2 separate regions of the Homo sapiens genome follow, and region 1 is linked to region 2. The links are contacts of gene promoters, found by promoter capture Hi-C in blood cells and fetal thymus (Javierre and others, 2016). All regions are on one chromosome and are shown on one strand. The core of a region is centred on a gene start or on the middle of the fragment in contact, and the rest is flanking DNA. Distances in the headings are between cores, read along the strand shown. Region 1 holds the start of EIF3H (eukaryotic translation initiation factor 3 subunit H). Region 2 holds the start of DSCC1 (DNA replication and sister chromatid cohesion 1).

What was found. The method cuts DNA at HindIII sites, captures the fragments that hold promoters and counts their contacts. A CHiCAGO score of 5 or more calls a contact.
Region 1: a fragment that was not itself captured here is called in contact with the fragment with the promoter of DSCC1 in region 2 in 1 of 17 cell types (non-activated CD4 T cells); the score reaches 6.7 in non-activated CD4 T cells.

What each region holds. Positions count from the first base shown.
Region 1 is chr8:116,754,126-116,757,032 of GRCh38, forward strand. It overlaps EIF3H (eukaryotic translation initiation factor 3 subunit H), which reads right to left and starts at 1,698. Exons shown (of 8, transcript NM_003756.3): 1 at 1,541-1,698. The coding sequence starts at 1,672. The HindIII fragment of the contact is 4,157 bases long and covers 1-2,907 here.
Region 2 is chr8:119,854,249-119,857,312 of GRCh38, forward strand. It overlaps DSCC1 (DNA replication and sister chromatid cohesion 1), which reads right to left and starts at 1,646. Exons shown (of 9, transcript NM_024094.3): 1 at 1,366-1,646. The coding sequence starts at 1,547. It overlaps LOC105375728 (a long non-coding RNA gene), which reads left to right. Exons shown (of 4, transcript XR_928590.3): 2 at 427-554; 3 at 1,158-1,631. RefSeq lists an enhancer at 1,318-1,627 and a silencer at 1,738-1,797. The HindIII fragment of the contact is 2,867 bases long and covers 1-2,155 here.

The DNA of each region.
Region 1 (2,907 bases), core at 95-2,594, 3.1 Mb before region 2:
TTTTTTTGGACGGAGGCTCGCTCTATTGCCCAGGCTGGAGTGCAGTGGCACAATCTCGGCTCACTGCAACCTCCGCCTCCCAGGTTCAAGCGATTCTCCCGCCTCAGCCTCCTGAGTAGCTGAGATTACAGGCGCGTGCCAACATGCCCGGCTAATTTTGTGTTTTTAGTAGAGACGGGGTTTCACCATGTTGGTCAGGCTGGTCTCGAACTCCTGACCTCCTGATCCGCCCGCCTCGGCCTCCCAAAGTGCTGGGATTACAGCCGTGAGCCACCACGCCCGGCCTGCATTTTCAAAGTATTACACAAGTGACATTTAGAACAAAACATTCCAAAGTTAATCTCTTGCCTGCATCTTTCAAACTCTGCTAACCACAGACATTAAACTCATAATAATAATCATAATTAACATTAAGTGATTACACTGTACTACAGGTCACCACATAAACTTTTTCATTTAATCCAAACAACTCTATGATACAGATACTTCTCATTCCCACTTGACAGATGAGGAAAGCAAAGCCTGGAAAGGCTAACTTGCCTTAAAGTCACAGAGCTGGTTAAGTGGAAGAGCCTAGAAGACTGAATGAGCTCTTAACCACCAGGCTACACTCTTGTATCCAGTTTAACTAAGTCAGTTCAACAGATTCAATTATATGCTGCGTTTAAATTATCAACAGTTTCCACTTAAAAATACCTGCTTGCAATTACAATTTTCACATGAATTTAAAAGTACTTTCTTATTACAAATATCTAAGATCTGCATTAATAGGAAATAACCTTTAAAAAAATCAAAGGAAGAGAGGATGCTTTTTAAAAAGAGGGCAGGAAGGATACTTTTAAAACTAGAACGTCATATAAATGCATTTTGCTTCGAAACAACAGAAATAAAATTTCTCATTCTAGATTTTCCTCTTCCCAGCTAAGTCCATTTCCTTATCAAGAATTTCCTTGGATGTCCTAGTTCATGAACCTTAACTACTAAATACATTTAAGGCCCTTCTCTTTGATATTCTTTTATGTTTTTCAGAATGAACACTACAAAAGAGTATTCTAAATTATACGGTTTCAGATAAAGCGCCGAAGTACAGGCTCAAAAGAGTGGCTACAAAGTACATCTCCACTTGGAACGTTATAGATGTCAGATCCCAGCAGGGAATCAGTGGAGTTTCCTTACTCTCTCCTTCCCAGAGCCCTACTAGGTCCCTAAATCCTTCTCGACACCTTCGTTAGCTGCTGGTCTCCAGGAGTCTTTCTTCAAATCCCCCCACCGGTCATCTCAAAACAAGACCCCAGGAACCTGTCACTCACACCCCTATTCTCAGTCCCCTTCCTGAAGCCCCAACTGTCCCGTTAGAAGACAAGAGAAGGCTGTCGAAGCTCCTGAACAAAAAGTGAAGATGAAAGAGAAACGTACTAGGGAAAAACTTTGGCCCAGCCACACCAAGCCCAAGGGGGAGAATGCTAGAAAGTACGTCTGGTGGGACGGGGCTGGGAACTGCGCTCCCCACGTGGGCCAGAGGAAAAAGAACAGCACTCACAAGGCCATCTATCTGCACTTGCTTCACGGCTGAATCTCCCGAGCCGCCTTTGCCTTTGCCTTTCCCTGCTGCGCCGGCGGTGGAGCTGGAAGAGGTGGCAGTAGAGCCGGTACCTTCCTTGCGGGACGCCATCTTTCCAAGCAGACAGGAAGAAAGAGAAACGTGAGTTACCGGAAGCGGAAGTACAAGTCTCGCGTGACGTCACTCGCAGGCCGGCGTTCGAGGGGCGGAGACGGAAGGAGAAGCCAAAATTGGGCCCCGCCTCCCTCCTGTTTTCCAGTTTTACCTTCTTTCCAGGCGGTATCCTTTGTGCATGCCTACTGTACATTTTCGACCTCTTTCCGATGGAATGATCTAAGATGAAAGTAAACTTTTTAAATGTTTAATCATTCACCACTAGGCAAACCGTCATAATAGCATTACAGTTCGCATTATTTCTGTAGTGTCTCTTATGTAAAAATGCTTTCATTTCTGATCTTGCAATGAAGTGCTGTACTAACTCGCATTATGCATATTAGAAAACTGATAAGTGATTTGTCCGACATTATTCTGTTAATTAGCGATGAGCCAGTATTGCACAGCTTGTTTTACGTAATTTTAGATAGCTGCTTGTAACCACTTAGATTATATAGAAATTAAGACATAGAAACTTTTATCAGAATTACCAGAAATAGTAGCCTTTTGCTATTAGCTTCATGTAGAGATTTACCTGAGTAAAGTACCAAAGAAGTTATCTGAGGTATTGTTGAAGGATGATACAGAATATATTTTCTAAAAATCACGCTGATTTATGACACATTACTCTGAAATACACATCTCAAGTCCTTAAAAGAATATATGACAACTGTAAGAAGCCATTTTAGATAAGTAATTTGAAACATTCTTTTCTACTTCCAAATGACTTTTTTCCTATCCCTTATTTTTGAAATGTTTATTCAATAAATATGTATACAGAACTGATGAAATAATTAAATCAATAAACGGCATATCCTGCCCTGAAGTTTTTTGTTGTTTTGTCATTGGGATCTGGTGTTATATTTCAATCTGGGAGGAGAAATAGTTACATGTTACAAATTCTTAACACTACAAAATGAAAAGTTAATATCCACTCATTTCAAGTGTATATGAAATATTTATTAAAATACACCAAACCCTAGGTCACACAGAAAGTCCACAAATTTAGAGGTTTTAAAGGTTGATCCTGGTAAAATTACACTAGAAATTGGTAACAGAACATTCACAAAAAGAAGAAAGAAAATCTCGCATGGAAGAACCAGACTGGAGGTTTTTGCCTACCACTAGGTAGCTGGAATGATGAGCATTAGAAAACAGTGAGGCTACTTATAAACAATAATACATTTATTTAT
Region 2 (3,064 bases), core at 396-2,895:
AAAAAAGAAGGAAGAGGAAAGGATGAAGGTGAAGCGGAGGAAAAGGAAGGATTAAAGACAAAGATGATGGCAATGACAGGGGAGTTGGTTCTAGCAGTTTTCCTTGTCTGTAAAGCATTTAATTCTCCTGTGCACAACTCGTTTCTTTTGAATAAATAATAAGAAACCTGAAATAGCAGACTGTGTATTTATTTTTGACTAAGTCTTCATTTAAGTAAAAAGAATAAAAGGTTTTTTAGATTCCTAATGCTAATAATGCTTAATAGGCCCAAGTACCTAGTCTTTAACATTTATTTCTCTAACTGCACTACCCCCACTTTGAAATATTTTGTTTATACCATCACTCCCTACACCCCAAAATTAAAAACACACGTTTCCAGGGCCTGTTTTTATTTTTTTGTTTTTGTTTTGTTTTGTTTTTGCCAGCTAGATTAACTAGAACTGGACCGAGAGAAAGTCCTCACACCTGAGTTCCTTTCTCAACTCTCCACCAACTGAACCGGGATGGAAACAGACTAGTGAAGTTCTTTCAGTTCCCTTAAAGGTACTTTGAGGTATATAGCAGGTATCTGAAGAATGGCCAGTTTACTCTAACACTCTTTGGTGGGCAAAGTACGAAAACTGAAAGACAGCCTAAAGGATTCCATTAAGAAAAAAGAGAAAAAATAGCCTAATAAAATATAGGTGTCGGAGGACCAATTGTGCAAAAGAGAATCAAGCTGGAGCTCCCTATTTTGCAGGAGCTGGGGCTGCACAGGGTGGAGGGATATAACGATTCTCTAGACTTCTCAAGACTGCCTTTAAAAAACTACCTCAACTTCGACTTCTAATCAATGATCTTGCAGCAAGTTTGTATCTGACCTGGAATTAGAAACAGCTTCAGATCCCTACTAAGCAAGTTTGCTTCGGGGTGGGTAGGGGTCTCACCCAATTACCAAGTCTGTAAGCTGATTCCCAGCACTTCCTATCTATCATCTGAGTAAAATAAATATAAGTGGAAGGCAAGAGTTCTATAAACATTGGGTATCACCACTGTATTTTAAGGTAGAGTGACAGGTGTCCTGTAGAGTCCCTGTAATCACCGGTAACTCTTCAAAAACTTCACGGAGGTTGTATTAGTATTTCCTGACTTGCTCCCGCTGACACATGCCTCCAAGGTCAGCTGGACCAGTGCTACTCATCACCGCAGTGCAGCTAACTGGACGGCCCACCGGAGGCGTGGACTCCTCGGGAACAGGCAGCTTGCTATGAGCCCCCGGCCAGGTCAGTGCATCTCTCTGGCCCTGTTTTCTTATCCCGACTTTCCCCGCTGAGAAAATAACGTGGCCGGCCAGAGGCTGGGGGCGCCGCGTGACCAGGGCTCACCTGTGTCCATCCTCCAGCTGCTGGCACAGCGTGGGCTCCAGCTCCAGCAGGCAGAAGTCGCCGGCTGCAGCGCCGCTGGCCCCAGGGCCGAAGCCCAGGCAGTGCACCGCCGGCAGCAGCTCGGCCGCATTCAGCTTGGCGATCTGCAGCGTCGCATCCACCTCGTCGCGGGTCCTCTTCATCGCAGCGCCGGGTCTAGGAGTCCCGCCGCGCCCGGGTGGCTGCGGGCTTGGCGGGCAAGAAAGAAGTTCCCAAGCAGCCGGAAGGTAGGAAACCTGAGCGTTTGAAAGCGCGCCAAGGCGGCCATGGGCGTGTTTCCGGGGCGGAGCGCGCTGCGGGCCCGCCCGCGGGAAGGCCTGCCGGCTTCTGGGAGCGCGAGCCCCTCCGTGCCCCACGCCGGACCGCGACTGCAGGAAGGAAACGCGGCTTCCCGGGGGGCGGTCTCGGCGGAAGCTCGCAGGGGCAGAGCTGCGACTCGGCGGGTTGGGACACGGATCCCTCGCCCACCCTTTCCGCTGTCCCCTTGCCCGCCCCCCATCCCCGATCTCCGTCCCTGGTTTCCAGCCGATGCTCCCATTTCCTCGCCGTCCACATTGTCTCACCTTCCGCCAGTGGCGGGCCCTGTGATAACCACTTGGCATGTATAATTCCATGAGCCCGTTGCCACAACCCTGTAAGGTGGTGCCTTGGTCATTCCCTTTTGCCAATGAGGAAGCAGGCTCCTTGCTCGTGATGGCAGAGTCAGGAGGTAACAGAGTCTGACTCCAGCCTAGCCGACTGTGGCTCTAAAAGCTTCCTGCGGGGTTTTGTGCAAATAACCCATGCTCGGGAGCGAGGCCCTGGGAAGGAGTATCTCGCTTCTTTGGGTCAGGGCACCATCATATCTGGAGACAACGGCGGGACTAGTCTATTCGTTGAATACCTAGTGTTAACCGAAAAGTGACTGATGCAGGTCTCGTTCAATAGAGGTTTATTTAAGCAAGGTTGAGGACGCACCCGAAGGGAAAAACAAGTCACAGGAGCATCTGTGACTTGTACATTTTCCAAAGGTTTGGGGAACTTCAGTATTAAGAGTTTTAAGAGAAAAGGTTTTCACTATGCACACATACATGAATTGCTTGTAACAGCGTAATGTGTAAACTTTCCCAGAGATGCTTAGGGAATCGTTGAGGGCCCTGGCTGTCCCTGAGAGCTAAAATAGTCTGGGAGGAATCACTTAAGAGATGGTGACCTCCTACTAGTTAGTGCAAATCAGACCTTGCTTGAAGTGAAAGAAAGTGGTGGGTAAGGTGTTGAATTCAAAGGATCTGAGCAGACATTTTTTTCAATTCTTGGGTAAAATGATACGAAAATACCAGAGTAGGGCATCCCAGGAGTCTGGGCAGTGCTTTCGTTGGTGGTGGAAAGATTGGTTCATGTGACCTACTTCTTCACTAGCCTCTTTTACATTTGAATGCATAGGAATTCGGTGGAATGAAATCCTGAATGTGACAGTGGTTGCCTGATAAGAAGTTATTATTGAAGGGAATCAACCATTGTAGTTGCTCTATTAAATGGGAAACATTCCCTACAACTAGAAGCAGTGTCAACTAGAACCCTGACATTTACATCAGACAGGCATGGCTGCGAATCCCAACTCTCTTCAGAACTTTGTGACCTAAGGCAATTTACCTAATTTCTCTGAGTACAACTTCCTTAT